3 separate regions of the Homo sapiens genome follow, and regions 1 and 3 are each linked to region 2. Evidence: promoter capture Hi-C in 16 types of primary human blood cells and fetal thymus (Javierre and others, 2016). All regions are on one chromosome and are shown on one strand. Each heading gives the region's core, a stretch centred on a gene start or on the middle of the fragment in contact. The rest is flanking DNA. Distances are from core to core; before and after follow the strand shown.

Region 1 (4,129 bases), core at 221-2,720, 940 kb before region 2:
AATTTTTATTACAACCTTGAAAAGTAGACACAGAGACATCTGAAAGGACGTGGAACATGGGGAATAAGAACTAAACGAAGATGCTTGTGATGGGGGCATGGGGAGAAGTCAAACAGGTTTCAGGATTAATAGCTAAAGAGCACTGCCCTTTTCTTATGCGATAGGTACTATTCTATGTGCTTCTGGAAAACATCATCTACTAAATGATAGGATCTAAGATCAGTCACCCAAGAAATAAGCACAGAAAGGACTTAGGCCTTTGTTCCTATATTTGATGAGTATATTTGCTTCATAGAAGTAAAACAGACGACCCGGGGAGGGTGGGGGGTGGGGGGAGGGAAATTACAAGAAAGAAGCTCCTGAGTGGGATATTACAATCCAGAGTGGCACTGGGGAATTGGGGGGAGGTAGCCTGTGTTTCTGGAAGAGGCGTAAGAGTGGACAGCTTTGGGACACTGGAAAAGGGGTTCAAGGAAAGATTGGGGCGAGGGAAGCGATCTAGACCTGGGAAAAGACTGTGTGGAGGGAATCTGAGAAAAACGGAGGATAAAAAGAAAGGTTGGCTCGAGTCAGAGGCATGGCAAAGGAAGCTGAGTTCGTCTGTGTTAGGAACGGGGCTCCAGAGGAGAAGAGAGGGGACCGATGGGTGGGGCCTGCGGGCAGCATCTAGCAAGGTTGGGGTGGGGAAGGGGAAATAGGGGCGGCGCCGAAGGCGGGAGGGGGCGTTACTGAAGCGCTAAAGGGTCGGGTTTCCACCCGGAGGTGGGAGGTGTGGGGGAGGGTGGCCGGAATGGAGACGGAGGGCTCACGGGAGGTTGTCGAGGGGCGGGGTCGGATCTGGGCACACGAGGCGGGGGTTGGTGCTTGCGGGTCTGAGGGTGGGGGGAGAAGGGAGTTGGATCCCGACGCCCGGAGCTGGCAAGATTTGGGCCGTGGAGGTGGGCCGCCGCGAGGGCAGCGCAGTGGGTGGGGGGTGAGTTGTAGTGGGAGAGGGTGGGGGGCGGGGAAGGTCGAGCCCCGGAGCTCGGGGCTGGGGGAGGAAAAACCCCGGCTCACCGCTTGATCCGGAGTAGACACTGCGGCGCGGTGCGCTCGCCGTCCCAGTCGGAGCTGAGCGTGGGGTCCCAGTGGCTAAGCAGCGCGGCCCCGTGGGCAGCGGCTGAGGGCGGGAGCCCGGGCAGCGGAGCCAGGCCGCTCCCCGGGCCCCCGGCCCCGCCCGCTGCCGCCGCCGCCGCCCACACATCCGGCAGGAAAGGCGGCCCGAACCCGCCGCCGCTGCCGCTAACGCCAACAACACCAGCAACGCTGCTCGCCCCGGGGCCCGCCGCCCCGGCGCCCGCCGTTGCCGCCTCCTCAGTCGGACTCTCCGCCATCGCTGCTTCGCTTCCGGGACTACTCGGCAGCACGTCCGCCGACCAGAGCGGCCGCTGCTCCCGCCCGCTCCCGCACCACCGAGAACCGGGCCAGAGTGTCCCCACCCCCTCCGCTTCCACAGCCCAGACGGTGCTGGCTCCGCCCACCCCCGCCCCAACCAGCGAGAGGCGCTCTGCAAGAGCGTCCACCTACGGTCCTCCAGGACGGGAGGGGTGGGAACTAGCAGGCCGTGATGGTTCTGGGCTCGTGTGGGTCCTGCGCTGTGCGGAAGTAGCGGAGAGCCCAATTCAAGTGTTGAAAGGGGAGAAGAGAGGAGGGAGTGGGGGAGGAAGGGCCATATCATTCCCGTTAATGGCGGCGACCCTCAGACGTCTGCATGGTTAGGATTGGGGATCCAGCATCCTCATGGGAAGCTCAGTAGAGAAGTTGACTCGCTTTGGGCCCCTTCTCTCGGAAAGGCTCTGCGATTGATCCCTCCTGCACACTTGTGCACCTAGGGCAGGGTACCATTGCCCTTGCCTGCAACAGGACCAAGAGAGAACTCAACTTGGAATGAAAAGCTACCTCTTTTAGAGTTTATTCAACATATATTTATGAAGGGCCTACTAAATGCCAGTCACTGTTGCTAGTTGTTGCCATGGGGATAATGAAACAGAACTAGAGAAGCTTGGTGAAAGGAAGAAACATCAGGCCTCCTGACTCCAAGCTTAGTACTTTTTCTTCCCACAAATCTTGGAATATACAGGAATCGAGGTACTGTGAGTGTAAACCCTGAGGATTCTTTGGGTCTTTCCTAAAATGTTTAAAGTGAAAAATAATCTGCCAGGCTCGGTGGCTCACGCCTGTAATCCCAGCACTTTGGGAGGCCGAGGTGGGCGAATCACGAGGTTAGGAGTTCGAGACCAGCCTAACATGGTGAAACCCCGCCTCTATTAAAAATACAAAAATTAGCCGGGCGTGGTGGCGTGCACCTGTAGTCCCAGCTACTCAGGAGGCTTAGGCAGGTGGATCACTTGAACCCGGGAGGCGGAGTTTGCAGTGAGTTGAGATCACGCCACTGCACTCCAGCCTGGGCGACAGAGCCAGACTCCGTCTCAAAAAAAAAAAAAAAAATTCCTATGGACTAAGAATGACAGGGGCCTTCCTAAAAAACTGTTTTTCCTTGCCGGGCGCGGTGGCTCATGCCTGTAATCCCAGCACTTTGGGAGGCTGAGGCGGGCGGATCACTAGGTCAGGAGATCAAGACCATCCTGGCTAACACTGTGAAACCCCGTCTCTACTAAAAATACAAAAAATTAGCCGGGCGTGGTGGCGGGCGCCTGTAGTCCCAGCTACTCGGAAGGCTGAGGCAGGAGAATGGCGTGAACCCGGGAGGCGGAGCTTGCAGTGGGCGGAGATCGTGCCACTGCACTCCAGCCTGGGCGACAGAGCAAGACTCCGTCTCAAAACAAAAACAAAAACTTTTTTCCCTAGCAAAAATATAGGATCAATATTAACTGGAAACCAGTGGGGCCAGATGTATTTCAGACTTTGGAATGACACACCAAGCAAGGAGTGGGGCAGCGCCGGGTAGCCAAACCTATTGACATTTCTGCATCAAAGTGTATGAACATTCGTACCAAGTCAAATGAATAGCCTCACTTTGGATGTTTTGCCACCAAGTTTGGTTTTTTAAAAAAGAAGTCTGGGCCGGGCACGGTGGCTCACGTCTGTAATCCCAACAATTTGGGAGGCCGAGGTGGGTGGATCACCTGAGGTAAGGAGTTCGAGACCAGCTTGACCAATATGGTGAAACCCCGTCTCTACTAAAAATACAAAAATTAGCCGGGTGTGTTGGCAGGCGCCTGTAGTCCCAACTACTCAGGAGGCTGAGACAGAAGAATCACTTGAACCCGGGAAGGAGAAGTTGCAGTGAGCCGAGACTGAGTCACTGCACTCCATCCTGGGTAAAAGAGTGAGACTCCGTCTCAAAAAAAAGAGTCTGGCTTTAGAGTTTTTTTGTTTTTTGTTTTTTGTTTTTAAAGAGGGAATCTTGCTCTTGTCACGCAGGCTGGAGTGCAATGGCGCAATCGTGGCTCACTGCAATCTCCGCCTCCTGGGTTCAAACAATTCTCCTGCCTCAGCCTCCCCAGTAGCTGAGATTACAAGCATGCCTCTATGCCTGGCTAATTTTTTGTATTTTTTTAGTAGAGGCGCCTCTACGCCTGGCTAATTTTTTGTATTTTTTTAGTAGAGGCGAGGTTTCACCATGTTGGCCAGGAAGGTCTCCAACTCCTTTTGGAGTTGGATCAAGTCATCCGCCCTTCTCGGTCTCCCAAAGTGCTGGGATTACAGAAGTCATCCACCCACCCCACCCTTCCTGCCTTTTAGAGTTTTATGAATTTACAGTAATGGAATGCAGACCTGAAGGATAATGACCAAGATTTATGGAGAGCTAAAGATTGATTTGTTTTGAGACAGGGTCTTGCTCTGTCACCCAGACTGGAGTGCAGTGATGGGATCACAACTCACTGCAACCTCTGCCTCAGCCCTCCAAGTAGCTGGGATTACAGACACGTGCCACGATGCCCGGCTAATTTTTGTATTTTTCTGTAGAAGCGAGGTTTCACCATGTTGCCCAGGTTGGTCTCGAACTTCTGGGCTCAAGCAGTCCTTCCGCCTTGGCCTCCTAAAGTGCTCGGGATTACAGGCGTCAGCCACCGTGCTTGGCCTAAAAAATTATTTTTTTAGCAGACATTTATTGAGTGTTTAATAT
Region 2 (4,248 bases), core at 783-3,282:
GGCTGGGGTTAACCATGACAATGGAAAATACAAGATGGTTATGCCAAGTACTGGATGAATGAACAGCTGCAAAGCCCCTAATACCTACAGCGCCCTAAGGACTAGATAACATGACTCTGTTGTGAACAGTGAAGTACCACCCTGTACATGTGAATACCAATGGGACTGACCTCTCAAAGTCTGGGCCCAGATTTGTGGCTTCAGAGCCATGCATATTTCCTCAGTGAGAGCTAAGAGCTGAGCTTTGTGGTCAGATGGTCCTGGGTTCTCGTTATCAAGTTTCTTGAGCAAGTCTACTATTCTGTGCCTCAGTTTTCCCACATGTAAAATGGGGAATAATAAGACACTGACTAGAAAAGGGAATGCAGGTAAAACACTGAACAGTGTGCCTGAGACACGGCAAGGACTCAAAAAATGACAGTGATCATTTTTATCATGTCAAGTGCCTAAAACAGCACCTGGTACAAAAAAAAACCCTCAATGAATGGTGGTCATTTTATTGGTCCTTTTCATGACCAAGAACAAGCTCACACACCAAGACTGCACATGGGCTGAAGGGCCAGTACAAATCTGAAGGGAGGCTAAAGAAGCTTCCCCCGTGACCACCAAGCAGGACTGACTAAATGGCACTACAGAGTGGTGAATTCAGAACTTGAACTCTGCCAACCGGTCAAACGCTGGGGTCCCACACTAGTATCAGTTATACTCTCTCTGCTATATTCCTGTAAAGTTTTCAGAAAGAAAAATTCTGTTGATGTCACAGAACTAGAAGCAACGGACTGGGGTAGTCAAACAGACACCATCTTAAGGACAAGATTGGCATCAAATCCATGAATCCAATAAGCATTTTAAAATGCCAGGAGCTGTGTGATCAGATGAAGAGGCCTTCCCTGACTATGAACTGGGGAGGAAGTATGTAAGCCCCATACAGACAACCTGGAGATGGCCTGGACACTAAAAGGTTTTCATTTGCAACTGGGTCTTAGGTCCCTCTTCCTCCTAAAATCAAGGGGGAGGTGGAAGCTTTTTAAATGAGGTTTTTTTTTTTTTTCCTGGCATAATGCAAAAGGCATGGACAGTGGGTCAGACAGACTTAAGTTCCAATTCAGATGTGCCACTTAGTGGTTGACTGTTTTTTGTCTTCTTTTTGAGATGGAGTTTCGCTCTCGTTGCCCAGGCTGGAGTGCAATAGTGAGATCTCTGCTCACCGCAACCTCTGCCTCCGGGGTTCAAGCAATTCTCCCACCTCAGCCTCCCGAGTAGCTGGGATTACAGGCATGTGCTCCCATGCCCGGCTACTTTTTATTTTTATTTTTTTGTATTTTTAGTCATGGAGACATGGAGACAAGGTTTCTCCATGTTGGTCAGGCTGGTCTCGAACTCCTGACCTCAGGTGATTCGCCCACCTCGGCCTCCCAAAGTGCTGGGATTACAGGCATGAGCCACCGCGCCCGGCAGTGGTTGACTGTTTTTAAAGCGAGTCATTTATCCTGTCCCTGAATGATACGATAACATATGTTATTAAAGGAGAAAACGCAGGTCAAACAGACTGTACATATGGTTCGTTCCCGCTGCTATCAGGGAAGCAGGTCTGGCCACAGATGGGGCATAGAACGAGGCCAGTGGTCAGCATCTCGACTCAGGCTTTCAGGGGTCAGAGCTCCCGGCTATTGGACACAGGGGGCAACGCACAGGCCTCCCCCCGACAGCCAGCTGCGCGGTGGCGCCCCCTCCTACCGAGCAGCTTGCTGGTCTGGATGTCGATGGGCACGTGCTGATGGTCCTGGCGGGAAACACGGTGAGGAGGGGGGCGTGAGCGCGGAGAGAGGACGTACCACTCGCGCGCTCATTTCAACGTCCCAACCACCACCCTGCAGGGCCAGAACGGGGCCAGAGCGATGGGCTGGGTTGAGCCGCTTCCGGAGGGAGACCGGAGACACAGGTTAGGGGTCCGCGGCCAGTCCCCAGCACACCCAGCTCCTGTCCCCACACCTCCATCTTTCCTCCACTTCCGCTTCAGGCTGGAGACTGTGGCCCGCCCCGCCCTACCACCAATCCAGTGGCGTTGTGGCCGAGCCTCCGTTTAGACACAAACGGGCATCCTTCGGCCACGTCGCCGCCTTCCGTACAGCCAATCAGGGTTTACGCTCCACTCAGGCCTCAAGCCCCGCCCACCCCAGGCTCCGAATGGCTGAGCTCGGGAGGGGCGGGAGAATGGAGACAGCCAATTGGAGACGCGAGGCGGGCTCAGGGCAGGGGACGGGAGGGGGTGCGCTGCAGCGGCCGTGGGATTGCGACAGGCGGCGCTCGAGAGCCCAGCCTGGCAGCCGCTTCCCCTGGCGGGCACTGGGTCTTCTCCACGCAGATTGAGACGTCTGCTGGCGGGGTCCTAGCGCCGATCTGGGAGGCCGTTGCAAATACCTTCTTCCCTCCTTGCGTCGCTTTACCATCCAGAGCAGTGTGCAGGTCTCTTGTGGCACTTGTCATGCTTTGCCTCCTCATTCAGTTTCTCTAATAGACATGGTTGAGCACCTGCAACGTGTTGGGCGATTAGGGCAGGGAAGGGGAAGGAAGAGAGTCGGTGAGACGTCCCAAAGAGAACACCTACATTGAGTCTAAACGAAGAGCTGAAGATAGCTGGGTGATGTGGGAAGAGGAGTTTTAGGTGGAGGAGACTACACAGACAAAGCTTAGGTGGCCACAAACTGCAAGAGGGGTGCAAGCAACAACAGGCAGGCAGGACGGGCAACGTAATTTGTGAGGTCCAGTGCAAAATGGAAATGCACAGCTGCTTGTTACAAAATGATGAAGAATTTCAAGATGAAGTCGGCTCCGCGGGCAGGCCAACCTCTATACCGTAGATGGTTTGAGGCAGCGAGTGGCTAGAGGAGAGGCTGTAAGGGTGGAAAGGCCATATCAAAGGGAGACTTATTAAGGAACTTGGACTTCATCCCTTCAGACAGAGGAATCACAGAAGGGGTTTGAGGCAGGGAGGAACCTGTACAGATAGGCTGCTGGGATGATGGATGCATGGGAGATAAGACTGGGGACAAGGAGGCTGGAAGGAGGTTGTTATCGAGGGATTATAGCCTGAGCTGGGACACAAGATATGAGGAGGAAGGGGAAGGGCTGGATCTGAGGAATATTTAGGAGGAAAATGTATAGGACTTGGCAATTGATTGGCTGTTTGGGTGGAGGAGAGAGACACTAAGGATGACACCTAGGTGATTAGGTGGGAACCACCACCTGAGACAGGGATGCAGGATGCTGAGCAGGTGTTGGGGAGGAGGGGGTCTAGCTTTGAACCTAGTCTGGCAATGCTGGGAGACCCCCAGATGGAAAGTGTGCAGAAGGCACTTGGGTCTATAATTTTGGAGTTCGAGGGAGTTGTCGGGGCTGGAGATACAGCTTGGAGAGTCACAAGCTGGCTAATCTGTGGTCCGAGTGGTGGCTGAAGCTAAGGGAGAGTCTGAGATTGGCCAAGAAGTGGGTAGAGTAAGGAGGGAGGGTAGGCTGAGGCCAGATCCCCCAGGATCTCACAGCGCTGGGTATGCCTTTTCTTTTTTTTTTTTTTTTTTTTTTTTTTTTGAGACGGAGTCACGCTCTGTCGCCCGGGCTGGAGTGCAGTGACACGATCTCGGCTCACTGCAAGCTCTGCCTCCTGGGTTCACGCCATTCTCCTGCCTCAGCCTCCCCAGTAGCTGGGACTACAGGCGCCCGCCACCACGCCCGGCTAATTTTTTTGTATTTTTAGTAGAGACGAGGTCTCACCGTGTTAGCCAGGATGGTCTCGATTTCCTGACCTCGTGATTCTCCCGCTTCAGCCTCCTAAAGTGCTGGGATTACAGGCGTGAGCCACCGCGCCCGGCCCTGGGTATGCCATTTCTAAATATTCCTTCCCCAGCTCCTGTTCACCACAGCACAACACTTGAGGCTTAGTAAATTTTTGATTGAAATGCATAGTGTGATACAGCAGCAGGAAGACCTAGATTCTGCCCAGTGAGGTCTTGGACCATTTCTATAACCTATCTGATAGCCACAGTTTCCCCACATGGAGATAACAGCTATCCTATCTCAGGGTATTTCTGTTTAGAGGCTTAAATAAACACACTAGTAACTCATGACAGTTTACAACATACTGTGGCTGTATTTCTCATGCTTTGTAAACTCTCCCTATATGAAATATCATATATGGGCCAGGCGCGGTGGCTCACGCCTGTAATCCCAGCACTTTTGGGAGGCTGAGAC
Region 3 (4,101 bases), core at 937-3,436, 850 kb before region 2:
TGTAATTCCAGCTACTTGGGAGGCTGAGGCAGGAGAATTGCTTGAACCCAGGAGGCAGAGATTGCAGTGAGCTGAGATCGCGCCACTGCACTCCAGCCTGGGCGACAGAGCAAGACTCCGTCTGAAAAAAAAAATATATTTTGACTGGCACAGGAAGAAAGGGCTTCTAGGAGGGACCTTGGTTCAGGGAGCAGAAGCAGGATCTCTGTTTGTTTCATTAACTACTTAAAGGAAGAACTCCAAACTGAGAAAAAACGCTGTGTGTGAAGTGCAGAGCAAACAACCTTACGGGGATTTTACTGTTGTTTTACTATTTATCTATTTAGTCAGGTGGGTGCCTTAGGAACAAAACAGCAGTGAAAACAACAGGGTTGGACCTGGATTTTTCCACACACTCTTGCCTCTGACAGCTTCTAGGACATGGTCCAAATTTTTTGACAATTAGGACCCTCCATCATTCTGCTTCAGTTTTTCATGCCCAGGCCGAGTAAGTCCCTCAGTGTTTACCTTGTGGATTTGTCTGTTTAGGGTTTGCCAGGCACAAATCACTGATATTCTCTGCTTTCCTGGCTGTCACTCGGGTTGAAGCTTGCTTTGCTCTACAGTGAGGGCAGCTCCACTGTTCACCGTGTTCACCCTGTGTTTGCTCCTGACATCAGCCCTGAAAGGACAGTAGTGCCAGGCTCTGGCCTATAAGCTCCCGTTGCAACATCTCATAAATAACCAGTTGTCAGGGATTTTAGTGGAAACTCTCTGAAAGCCGTAAATCTTTGCTGCTCTCTCCTGTATCCTCTCCCTCATTTCCATCACAATATCACTCCTGAGGGACCGGAGACCAAACAGGAGCTAGGCAGAGCAGATTGGTAGGACGCTGGGGAAAGACAACAGTGGGATGGGGGAGGGGACCAGGCTGGGACAGTTGGTCTTAGGGAAGCATCTGCTGGGTGACCAGTTAATGATGGTCACTTGGCCCCTTAGGGCCTGTCGGGGAGGGGCACCACAGCACGGGGCCACCTGCGGGGGGAAAAGGGAAGAGTGCTGACTGGATGGCAGAGAGGTTTCTGAAAGAGCAGCAGATGGGCCACTGGTTCCACTTTGGGCCTTCTGTTCACTCCGGGGTGACTGTAAGCACCACGTAGTAGGCTTCCAGGGTCGGCTTGAGGCTAAGCTACACCCTTGCCTCTGGTGTTCTGCCTGTGCACATCAGCAGGTGAAGGGGATCTGGGTTGGGAGGAACTTAGGTTACCAACTCAGGCCCAAATGAACAATGTTTATTTATTTATTTGAGACAGAGTTTCCCTCTGTTGCCCAGGCTGGAGTGCAGTGGCGCGATCTCAGCTTAATGCAACCTCTGCCTCCTGTGTTCAAGCGATCCTCCCGCCTCAGCCTCCCGATAGCTGGGACCACAGGTACGCGCACCGCGCTCGGTTAATTTTTGTATTTTTAGTAGAGAGGAGGTTTCGCCATGTTGTCCAGCTGGTGTTGAACTTCTGAGCTCAAGCGATCCACCCACCTAGGCCTCCCAAAGTGCTGGGATTACAGGCGTGAGCCACCGCGCCCGACCATCTTCAATGATTTGAATCCAGTCACTACTACAGATTCTCCACCTGAGACCAAATGGTTGCTCTGAGAAGCCCAGACCCCTAACCCCTTAAGTCTCACTGACTCTTCAGTCGGTCTAGGCGGCCCTCTCTTACTGATCAGTTCACTGGAGGCCATGACCCCCACACTCTGGAGGTGAGGTCAGGGTTCAATACGCCTGAGCGGTCATCACAGGTTTGCAACACCCATTTTCCTGTTGAAGAAGCTAAGCCTCACAGAGGTAACGTGGCCTGCCCAAGGTGACACAGGCACTAATATGCCTGAGATGCTGATTTAAGTCTCCAACCAGTGTTTTCCCACAGTGCCTCCTGCTTCAGGTTTGCCCTCTCCCGAAGGCCTAAATTCAAGGTGCCCCCCTCCCTCACCGCAGCCCCGCGCAGCTGGACCTCTGGAGCCAGACGTTCTGGCCGCGCCCGCGCACGGCGCCCGACGGCACCGGCGCGGATGGGCTGGGACTGCGGCTTGGCTCGCTGGGCAAGGGTAGGGCTGCGGGAGCGAGCGGCGGTCCAGCCCCTGGCGCCCGGGTGCGCGGTGCGCGCGTCCTCCGCGTCTCCCGGGACAACCGTGGGCGCGCCCCTCCCCTAGCGCCTGGGCGGTTAATTGGATTCGGGAGGGAGGGGGCATGGCAGCTACTGCAGGGGCCAATCGAAGGCCTAGAAGGCCCCGTATGCAAATATGAGGGCCGGGCGGACCCAAAGTTAGGGCGAGCGCGGGTTGGGGTTGGGGCTGTCTGGCAGCCAATGGGAGCGTTACTCCTTCATCCTTCGAGGAGGGGGCCGGCAGGTGTGGTTGCAAGCTGGACTAGCAGCCCAGCGGGGCGAGACGGGGGAGTAGGAATTGCGGGTAAGAGCGCCCCAAAGCCCGGTGCTGGCTCCAGACCGCAGCCTCCTGGTGCCTGTCCCCTGAAAACCTGGCTAGACACGTCTCCTTAAACCCACACGGGACCCAGGTCCCCAGGGTAGCCCGCTGCCCTCCCTGGTGGCGTTCCATGGCGCCAGGCACTCACCCTCACGGTCCCTCGGCTCCGGGACTCCCCCCTTCTCAGTCCCTCTTATTAACGTTCATTTCCCGCCCTCCCCCGATTTCCTAAACCACAGTCCACCAAGGAGCTGTCGCTTAGACACCAGCGATCCCTGGGACTCACACAACTCTCTTCATCCCCTTCATCCCCATCATTGGGTCATTTTCTTCATCACTGTTCTTCCTTTGTCTGGAGAAACCTTCCAGCAAGACACTTCCCATTTTTCATGGCCGGCATAGTCCTCTGCTGATGCCCCTACCGCCTTCCAGCCTGGTGTTCTTTCATTTCCAGTTGTTATTTCTCACCCCTCCTGAAAAAATACTCTTCTGGCTTTGCAGAAAGTTCTCCTTTGGGATTTGAACTCTAGGAAAAATATCACATTGGGGGATGAAGTGGGAAGGGAGCTAACGTTTTGAAAGCACCAGTATGTGCGAGGCACTCCAAAAAAATTTAATATTTATGCCAATCTTATTATTATATTTTCTTTTTTGTTTGTTTTAAGAGATGGAGGTGGGGGTGGGGGGGCTCACTTTTTTGCCCAGGCTGGTCTCGAACTCCTGAGCTCAAGTGATCCTCCCACTTGGGCTTCCCAAAGTGCTGGAATTACAGGCATGAGTCACCACGCCTGGTTTATATTTTCATTTTACAATATAGCCTTTATTTTGAACCAAGCACTGCTTTAAGGGTATTAGAAATATTAACTCATTTAATCTTTAAAACAGCTCCATAAAATGAATATTATTATCATCCCCATTTTACTTATACAGAAGCTGAGGTACAGAGAGGCTAAGTTACTCACCCATGGTCACACATTCTAGAAACTAGTAGAGCTGGGATTTGGATCCAGATCCATCTGTCTTTGTTAGCAATGCCCTGAATATTGTGGAGAAAATGACTAGGCATGAGCCTGATCTGAATATTGCATCTTCCAATCTTGCAGAATTTCTCAGTTTCTAGAAGAATAAAAGATGGCATCTAAGTCAGCAAGATTCTTATTGTTCCCACTACAGGTGACTTGTCATTCTCAACACTTCTTATTGGCAAAGCCCTTGAGCAATTGGGTGCCCCATCCCTCCCTTGTTAGTTCACATTTTGCTTAGGACCCTTTCAGGCCCCGGGCTGAAATTCAAAGTGTGACTAAAACGAAAAGTCAAAAGACCACAAAAAACATCTTATTTTATCCTGTCTGAATCAAAGCTCAAAGCACTTTTCTAGATGTGAAGCTTTTATCCTCCTAGTGGTCCTGTAATTATAGAGAAGATAGGGAGTGGGAGAGGAAATAATTGCTTGGATTTTTATGACATACTGAGTTGGAGGGGCAAAGCTGAAAGCAAGATCCAGAGGTCTTACCTCCACATCTTTTCTTCCCCCATCCAATTTGACATTTTCCAAGAACCACTGGAGGCCTTCAGAGGGATGCTTCCAGTAGGGAAATGAGGACCAAAAGATGAAAAGGAGGTACGTGAAGGAAAACCTAT

What was found. Contacts are between HindIII fragments. The CHiCAGO score rates a contact against its expected background, and 5 or more counts as called.
Region 1: the fragment with the promoter of UBE2Z here is called in contact with the fragment with the promoter of CDK5RAP3 in region 2 in 5 of 17 cell types (M0 macrophages, fetal thymus, non-activated CD4 T cells and 2 more); the score reaches 12.8 in M0 macrophages.
Region 3: a contact is called between the fragment with the promoter of TTLL6 here and the fragment with the promoter of CDK5RAP3 in region 2, in 5 of 17 cell types (total B cells, M0 macrophages, non-activated CD4 T cells and 2 more). The highest score is 6.1, in total B cells.

What each region holds. Positions count from the first base shown.
Region 1 is chr17:48,905,748-48,909,876 of GRCh38, reverse strand. It overlaps UBE2Z (ubiquitin conjugating enzyme E2 Z), which reads right to left and starts at 1,470. Exons shown (of 7, transcript NM_023079.5): 1 at 1,057-1,470. The coding sequence starts at 1,373. It overlaps LOC105371814 (a long non-coding RNA gene), which reads left to right and starts at 894. Exons shown (of 4, transcript NR_135674.1): 1 at 894-938. RefSeq lists silencers at 682-811, 1,082-1,331. The HindIII fragment of the contact is 3,469 bases long and covers 1-2,042 here.
Region 2 is chr17:47,968,897-47,973,144 of GRCh38, reverse strand. CDK5RAP3 (CDK5 regulatory subunit associated protein 3) reads right to left here and starts at 2,032. Exons shown (of 14, transcript NM_176096.3): 1 at 1,993-2,032; 2 at 1,738-1,783. The coding sequence starts at 1,998. RefSeq lists an enhancer at 1,043-1,670 and a silencer at 2,092-2,381. The HindIII fragment of the contact is 1,666 bases long and covers 1,026-2,691 here.
Region 3 is chr17:48,815,314-48,819,414 of GRCh38, reverse strand. TTLL6 (tubulin tyrosine ligase like 6) reads left to right here and starts at 2,186. Exons shown (of 16, transcript NM_001130918.3): 1 at 2,186-2,445. The coding sequence starts at 2,343. It overlaps LOC105371813 (a long non-coding RNA gene), which reads right to left. Exons shown (of 4, transcript XR_001752926.1): 3 at 3,423-3,576; 4 at 2,457-2,986. RefSeq lists silencers at 1,991-2,340, 2,431-2,480. The HindIII fragment of the contact is 3,258 bases long and covers 591-3,848 here.